3 separate regions of the Homo sapiens genome follow, and regions 2 and 3 are each linked to region 1. The links are contacts of gene promoters, found by promoter capture Hi-C in human tissues and cell types (Jung and others, 2019). All regions are on one chromosome and are shown on one strand. The core of a region is centred on a gene start or on the middle of the fragment in contact, and the rest is flanking DNA. Distances in the headings are between cores, read along the strand shown.

Evidence for each region. Contacts are between HindIII fragments. The study calls those that stand out against the background at their distance.
Region 2: the fragment with the promoter of MAPKBP1 here is called in contact with the fragment with the promoter of ITPKA in region 1 in 5 of the 25 tissues and cell types used here (IMR-90 fibroblasts, adrenal gland, mesenchymal stem cells and 2 more).
Region 3: a contact is called between a fragment that was not itself captured here and the fragment with the promoter of ITPKA in region 1, in 4 of the 25 tissues and cell types used here (adrenal gland, dorsolateral prefrontal cortex, lymphoblastoid cells and 1 more).

The regions. Positions count from the first base shown.
Region 1 is chr15:41,492,441-41,495,140 of GRCh38, forward strand. It overlaps ITPKA (inositol-trisphosphate 3-kinase A), which reads left to right and starts at 1,434. Exons shown (of 7, transcript NM_002220.3): 1 at 1,434-1,976. The coding sequence starts at 1,488. RefSeq lists enhancers at 336-836, 837-1,337 and silencers at 1,074-1,693, 1,714-1,893, 2,004-2,053. The HindIII fragment of the contact is 23,030 bases long and covers 1-2,700 here.
Region 2 is chr15:41,773,151-41,775,850 of GRCh38, forward strand. It overlaps MAPKBP1 (mitogen-activated protein kinase binding protein 1), which reads left to right and starts at 1,334. Exons shown (of 31, transcript NM_014994.3): 1 at 1,334-1,460; 2 at 2,017-2,239. The coding sequence starts at 2,126. RefSeq lists an enhancer at 781-830. The HindIII fragment of the contact is 12,032 bases long and covers 1-2,700 here.
Region 3 is chr15:41,802,889-41,805,588 of GRCh38, forward strand. The region is part of intron 3 of MAPKBP1 (mitogen-activated protein kinase binding protein 1); the gene reads left to right. Among named protein-coding and RNA genes, the nearest start is that of JMJD7, 24 kb to the right of the region's middle. The HindIII fragment of the contact is 5,645 bases long and covers 1-2,700 here.

The DNA.
Region 1 (2,700 bases), core at 184-2,683:
TGCCTAATATTCTGTATTTTTAGTAGAGACAGGGTTTTGCCATGTTGCCCAGGCTGGTCTCGAACTCCTGGGATCAAGCAATCTGCCCGCCTTGCCCTCCCAAAGTGCTGGGGTTACAAGCCTGAGCCACTATGCTTTGCCGAAGATTCCCGTCTTCCCACTGAACCTTCTTCTTTCCTTCTCCTGGGCCATTCCTGAGCCCTGGCTGAGGGGAGAGAAGGGAAGGAAAGCCCCTCCTGCGGCCATCTCAGCATCCAAGGCAATCCTTCTGGGGCTGCTCTGTCTCCAGGGCCCCAGCCATCCCCAGACACTGAGTGCCTGAGGGGGGACCCTCACTCCTGTGGCACTATGGTAAGATAGGAAACAGTGGCTTCTCCTCAAAGCAGCCTCGCCGGTCGGTCAGCTGACTACCAACATGGGAAGTGGCCGAAGATCCACATGGAATGACACTGATAAGCACTTTGCAGTGTCTGAAACTCTTAAACATCAGTGCTGTCTTCCTAGTTTTACAGACACAACTCTGTGGGTTGGATGAGGTTTTTCTAAATGTACAAATGCAGAAATATACGGAGGGAGTAAAGGGACTGCCTACAAATCACATCTAGAGTGTGGTGTACCTGATTTCAAGTCTTTTATTTTATTCTCGCAGCAACGGGAGAATCCGCAGTCGAGGGAGGTGAAATGACTTGCTGAACGCCACACGGCGGACTCCAAGCCCCGAGCTCCTATAACAGAGGAGGAGGAAGGCGGGCTCAGCTCCTGCCACCCAGCAGCGGGGGAGATGCAGCCCGGGACTAGGCTGGGCCATGGGGACAGATCCAGGCCCCGCCCCCTGACCTTGTTCTCTGCCCGCCGGGAAGTGGGGAACTTGCGGGGAGCAGCCTCAGCTAGTCCCTGGGGCAGAGTCTCCACTTGGGTGCACGCCCTGGGGTGGGGCTTCTTCGGGAAGCCGGGGGCCTTCAACTCTGCTCAGGAGCTCGGGCCGGAGAAAGGCCCCGAGACTTGAAGCCCTTGCCCGGGAGGGATGAACACGCAAAGGAACCCGAGGAACGGGGTAGGGGACCAAGAGTAGGACCAGCTTCTCCTGCGCGGGGACAGGGCCTGTGGAGCGGCCTGGAGGAATCTCTCCCAGCCGCGAAGCCCGGGAAGGCTGCGAGGCCCCAGCGCGGAGCGGCCCCTCCCACCTCCCCGAGGGCAGGCGGAGCGAAGCCTCGGGGCCCGGGCCCAGGTTTTGTGCCTACGGAGGCTGGACTTCCCCGCCACCCCGAGGAGTCACCGAGAGCCTTCTCTCCCTCGCAGGGGCCCTGGGAGGCCCGCGCTTTCTCTGAAAGTGGAAGGAGTGGGCGGGGGGCGCGGCCGAGGCGGGGCGCGGGCGTGCAGCGGCGCAGGCTCCGCCCCGGGGCCGTCTCCAGCCGGGGGCGCCGAGCCGCTCCAGTCCCCGGCGCGCCGCGGGCTGGTGGGCTCAGCGGCGGCGCCGGCACTGGGAAATGACCCTGCCCGGGGGCCCAACGGGCATGGCGCGGCCGGGGGGCGCGAGGCCCTGCAGCCCGGGGCTGGAGCGGGCCCCGCGCCGGAGTGTCGGGGAGCTGCGCCTGCTCTTCGAGGCGCGCTGTGCGGCGGTCGCTGCGGCCGCCGCCGCGGGGGAGCCCCGGGCCCGCGGGGCCAAGCGGCGTGGGGGACAGGTCCCCAACGGGCTTCCGCGGGCTCCCCCGGCCCCGGTGATCCCTCAGCTGACCGTGACAGCCGAGGAGCCCGACGTGCCCCCGACCAGCCCTGGGCCGCCGGAGCGGGAGAGGGACTGCCTCCCGGCAGCGGGCTCTTCGCACCTGCAGCAGCCGCGCCGCCTTTCCACCTCGTCGGTCTCCTCCACTGGCTCCTCGTCGCTGCTCGAGGACTCGGAGGACGACCTGCTGAGCGACAGTGAGAGCCGGAGCCGCGGCAACGTGCAGCTGGAAGCGGGCGAGGACGTGGGTCAGGTACGGGCCGCGGGGGCGGGGCCAGCGCCGGGCGCGGGGGCTGCACGGGGGACCTGGCTGGGTGCTCCCGGAGGACCCGCTCCTGTCCATGCTCCCTCCAGCGGAAGGTCCTGTTCTCGCGGTTTAGGAGGAATCTGGGGGTCAGAGGGAGGCGCCTGGCCGACCTCTCGCCTGGGCAACTTTCACCTCGGCTCCGCCGGCGGGTCGTGGCGCTGGCCCTGGGGCGTCTAAGAAGCGGGGCGAGGAGCAGGCGACCCGCCGCGGGGACTGGGCGAAGCGGGGGTAGCGGACCTTGTTGGCTGTGGGTTAGGACAGGAGGGATCGGAGGGGCTGAGCCTTGCCGGGTGAACCCTCGGAAGGAGAGAGGCGAAGGAGAGTTTCCCTTACCCCCCGCCCCCTCTCCGGTGCCGCGGCCGCACCCCCGCCGTTGCCACGGTTTCCCTCTCCTGAGTGGGAGTGGAGCGGCGCTCCAGGCTCTGCTCGGGAGCCGCTGCCGTCTGCTCCCAGCGCCCGCACGAGGCGTGGACGCAGGGGAGGGAGGGGCGTGGGCCTGGGAGCTCTGGCTGGGAGCGGAACGCAGCCCACCCAGTGCGCGCCCTGCCTCCCATCTTCCCGGCTCGCCGCTCCTGAGCGCGGCAGAGAGGGGCGGTAAACTGAGGCTGCAAGGGGGCAGGATCACTCTGCTAGTCTCTGCCTCTGATAGCCTGGGTGTTCTGGGACCAGG
Region 2 (2,700 bases), core at 84-2,583, 280 kb after region 1:
CATCCATCATCTCCATGTCAACTTGTGAGCTTTACAAATCTAATTTTCAGTACGTGGCTACAGTATACACAAGAAAATATGTGCTTTGCCACTTGGCTCTAAAGGCTCACCGTTGTACACAAGCAATGAGTTTAGGGGTTCTTCCCTCTTGTTATCACATGTCATCTCCACAGGGTTTCAAAAGATCTGGATAGGGTGAGACAGACACACCAGTGTAGTACTCCCTTGGGTCCCTTGTCTTTGGCTTAGGCTTTTTCATAAGGTATAATAATTTGTTAGAGGTTCTTCCCTCTTGCAGACACATGTCATCTCCACAGGGATTCAAAAGATCTGGATAGGGTGAGACGGACACACCAGTGTACTATTCCCTTGGGACCCAAGTCTCTGGCTTAGGCTTTTTCATAAGGTGATTTCTTGTGGTAGTAGTCAAGTGGAGAATACTCAGGAAATACTATTTCATGTAACATTTCCGTGTATTCCCTCTGCCTCCCCCGACATGAGTTAGAAAACTACCCCTCGATCTAGTATCAGCAAGCTCGACAGTGACCTCAGCAAGGAACAGCCCTAGATAAAAGGATTCATAAGTAAATGGAATGAGGAAAAGATCTGGAGCAACAAAGTCCTGGTCAGCTTTAGGTGAGGAAGCACAATGGGATGTTGGAGGCTAAAGAAGCCATGAAACCTAAAGTATTATAACATAGCATATTCACTTCTCTTTCCCCCGCACGCCCAAAGCTCTGTTCAAGGCCACCCTTTCCCCTTTCATGATGACCAGGTTGCCCAGTGCAAAAATACTGTTCTTAGCTATTAAATTGCATTACTCAGAATAATCCTTTCCACGTTGAGTCTACGTGCCGGACTGGCTGCGAGCAGAAACTACTTCAGTCGCTTTAAATCTCAACACTTGTGGTCGCTGGGAGCAGAGCTTTTAGGCTGTAGCTCAGTCTTGTAATTCTGAGCTAGGAGTTTCAGCTACGGTCCCTCGGGCCTATCAGATGACAACCTTAACACCCTGGAGGCGTGGTTATCGTCTTGGGGCTCTGGGAAGTGCAGTTCCATGGGGGACCAGGCCTGATAATACCATAAAAGGCTTGGTTCTCTCAATTCTGAAGCCATGTTCTGTTGACCTTCCTCTAAAAGCGGTACCCGCAATTGTGCGGATTCCGTGGTTCCCTAGTCCCAAGCCGTCTGCTTCCTGGGCCCTTTCATTGGCTCCGCCCCCGTAAACCTTGCTCGTCCACTCTGGAAGCGCTCTCCTGACTACAGGCCGCGCCCCTCGCGTCGGCTCCGCCCACCCAGCCCGCGGCTTGGCCCAGGCGGTAGTTCGCGTTTTGAGCCGATCGTGCCACCATAGCTCCTGCTGCTGCCTCTACCGCTGCGGCTACCGCGGCGGAGCTGAAATTGCCGAACGCGATGCCCGAGGGCGCTGTGAGCGGGGTGGCCTTAGCTCGCCGAGGCTGGTGAGGCTGGGCCCGAACGGGGGCGCTGACGAGTAGCAGGGGCCTCAGAGGCGGGTGAAAGATAAAGGTCCAGAGCCGCTGTGGAGGGCGGAGAGCGAGCTCTGGAGGATAGGGAGTGGGGGAGGGAGGCTCCCGTGGCAGAACGAGTTGTGGGCTACGGCGAGCCCCGCCGCGTCCCCGCCGGCGCTAGCGCAGGTGTCCAGGCCTGCGGAAATCCCTGGTGGTCTCGGCGGCCTCCTCCCTTGGACACTACAGTTGCCATGGGAACAGTTGGGCATTAACGGGAACCAGATCGTCCACGAGACCAACTGGGGCCCATCCCATCCATCTCGCCAGTTAAACGCCTCTGGCGGGCGTGGGCCTGGCATTTCTTCGTGGCTTAGGATTTTCCCCCCCTTTTTCGTGAGCCTTTCCTTCCGACGTTGTAAGAAACTGTGCAGGGCTAGAAGGTGGGGATGAGGGAAATGGTGAGAGCAATACCCAGAGGTAAAAGCTGCAGACTTCGCTAGGCAGAAGGTAAGACACTGTGATACTAAGGTGGCTTCTGCCATCTCAGGTCAGTGAGAGGGCATACTGGGAAGCCCTCTGGAGTGGGAAGACAGTGCCGCTGTTGAGACAAGACCCAGGACTGGGCCGGGGACTGTCCCAAAGGGTTTCTCGTCATAATGGCTGTGGAAGGGTCAACCATTACCAGCCGGATCAAGAATCTGTTGAGATCTCCATCCATCAAACTGCGCAGGAGTAAGGCAGGAAACCGACGAGAGGACCTCAGCTCCAAGGTGAGTCCTGTTGGGATCCACCTCTTTCCAAACCCACCCTCTCCTGCTCCATGTTCCTCGTTAACCTTCCTGTTTCTTGGGAAAGATAACTAGAAGCCCTTGTTGACTCTAAAGGATCACATATGATCTCTGCAGGCAATGATTTGGTTTTAGGTTGAAGGAAAAAGAGCAGCAGGGGTGGGCATGCTGAGATTCATCCATGAGAAAAGGTGAATAGTAGGAAGACCACCTGGGTTCAATTGTGGCCTCACTATACACTAAGCATGTGCTTGGGAAGCCAGTTGATATGCTATGACTCAGTTTCCCTTCTTGGGAGAGGACAGTAGGAACACATACCTTGTGAAGGGCTAAGCTGTGACTAATGTAGCTGCAGGTGTTAACGTAACAGCTGGGGTTATGTAAGACTGTAGTGGCAGAAAGAAATATGCTAAAACACCTAGTCAGAGTTACTGGCTTGGTAA
Region 3 (2,700 bases), core at 134-2,633, 310 kb after region 1:
ATAGGGTCAGGATCATCAAGATGTCACTAAGTGACAGGAATATTTTAGCTCCATTATAATCTTACGGGACTACTGTCATACATGCCCTTCGCTGTTGACCAAAATGTTATTATGTGACGTATGACTGTACTTATTCTATGCCAGGTACTTTTTAAGCACTTTATATGAATTATTTAATACTCTGAGCAACTATTATCACCCTCATATTTTAGAGGAGGAAATTGAGATCCAAAGAGGTCAAGCAGGCCAAGTGCAGTGGCTCACGCCTATAATCCTAGCACTTTGGGAGGGCAAGGTGGGCGGATCACCTGAGGTCAGGAGTTCAAGACCAGCCTGGCCAACATGGTGAAATCTTGTCTCTAGCAAAATACAAAAATTAGCCTGGCGTGATGGCGGGTGCTGGTAGTCCCAGTTACTCGGGAGGCTGAGCTGGGAGAATCGCTTGAACCTGGGAGACGGTGGTTGCAGTGAGCCGAGATCGTGCCACTGCACTCCAGCCTGAGCGGCTGAGCAAGACTCCATCTCAAAAAAAAAAAAAAAAAAAAAAGGTTAAGCAGGCAGGGTGCAGTGGCTTTGGGAAGCCAAGGTGGGAGGATTGCTTGAGACCAAGAATTTGAAACCAGCCTGGGCAACATAGTGAGAACCCTGTCTCTACCAAAAAGTAAAAATAAAAAAAATTAGCTGGGTATGGTGGCATGTGCCTGTAGTCCTAGCAACTGGGGAGGCTGAGGCAGGAGGATTGCTTGAGCCCAGGAGGTGAAGGCTGCAGTGAACTATGATCGTGCCATTGCACTCCAGCTTGGGTGACACAGTGAAACCCTGCCTCTTAAAAAAACCAAAAGGGTTAAGGAGTTTGCTTGAGGTAACATAGCTAGTGTGTGTAATGGGGTTCTAACCCAAGTAGTATGACTGTAGAGCTCTGATTGTTAAAATGGCACAGAGTAGGGGGAGACCACACTGTTTTTTTTTGAGACAGAGTTTCATTCTTCTTGCCCAGGCTGGAGTGCAATGGCACGATCTCAGCTCACCGCAACCTCCGCCTCCTGGGTTCAAGCAATTCTCCTGCCTCAGCCTCCAGAGTAGCTGGGATTACAGGCATGCGCCATCATGCCCAGCTAATTTTGTATTTTTAGTAGAGATGGGGTTTCTCCATGTTGGTCAGGCTGGTCTCAAACTCCCGACCTTAGGTGATCTGCCCACATTGGCCTCCCAAAGTGCTGGGATTACAGGTGTGAGCCACTGTGCCCGGCCACTTTCTGCTTATTTTTAACAAATTGCTTTTCCTCTAAGCTGCCTACCTGCCCTTTGAATGAGAAGAGCCCCATTTATGGGCAGCTCAGTCTGTGCAAGGGAGACTTCTGCCCCTGGGTTTGGGGTCAGTGTCTCTCCCAAGTGGTCCTCTGGTGTTTAATGGCTGCAGTAAGGGTGCTGTGGGAGCCACACGGGCTCTGCCTGGCAAAGGCTGGGCTAGGCTCCATTTTCCCCTAGAGAAGCAAGCTGATGGAAAGACCTCTCTACTGGATAAGTTTGTGCAGCCTGCCTCAGGGGAATTCCACTTGTTCTTGCCTCTGCCTGGGAAAGCCAGGTTCCCTCTTGTTGGAGGTGGGGCTGGGGCTGGATGTAGCACAGGCAAAAAAGGCCTTGGGGTGCTGCTTGGTGCATGCTGAGACCTGTGTCCCTGCCCTGGAGAGTGTGGAGTCCTGCCCGCTTTCTTCCTCACACACCCCTGGACTCCAGGCCTGGCCTTTAAGGGCATGTGCTTATGCATGTTTATGAGCAGGTCTCAGCCCAGTGCATGTGCCTGGGAGTCATGATCCTTCCAGATGGTGTACAGGCTTTCCTGATGGAACCTCTAGTAGGTTTCCTAAGCGTGTATGCTTGGCTTAGGCCATCCCTGGGCAGTGCCCCTAATCTGTTCCCTGACCTTTTGATTTCTTAGAACTTGAAGTTGTCTGTGCAAATGGCTTCTTTTCTGGGTGTTTGAGTTTTGCTGTGTTCTAGAACTCCCTGATGTGCTGCTGTGATGTTGGGGGCCACCAGATTCTGTGTGAGCACAAGCAGGTTCTTCACCTCCCTCCTTGTCTCCCTGCTTTTCTTATCTGATCATCCTTACACTGCCCCCAGCCCCCACGCTCTTGTTCCTCCTGTGCCTGTTGCTTTGGGAGCCAGCTCAGGTATCCTAGAAACAAGGAGAGAAACAAAACTCAGAAAATTCTCTGAGGCCCGGAGGCGAATATCAAACCAAAACAAAGTTTTCTGAAAGGAAATGGAACAGCACAGGAAAGGAGGGTGGGCAGTGTGTCAGGCAGAGGTGGGTAGGAGCTCCAGGCTGAGCATGGAGCCTGTCCTAGTGGCTCCTACATCCCTTGGCCGTTGTTTCCCCACGGGAAGCCCCCCTACTAGAGGATGCCAGACAGCCCCTTTGAGAGACTTAATTGAGTTGAACACCCTTAATTGAGTTGGGCCTTTTCCTCAGCCAGCTGGTGGAAGGTTGATGGGCCTTCAAGCCCAGCACAGCCCCTGTGCCCCTGTGCCCCTGTGCCCAGTCCTGAGAATGGGTTTCTCCTGGCTCCTATGCCAGAATGGCCTGGGTGAGTGCCCTGCGCACAGCTGCTCCTCTCCCGCTGGGATGGGAAGTGTCCCAGCAAGGTGACGGGGTGTATCTGGCAGCTAAGAAGAGACCTCTTGGTTGATTTAAGT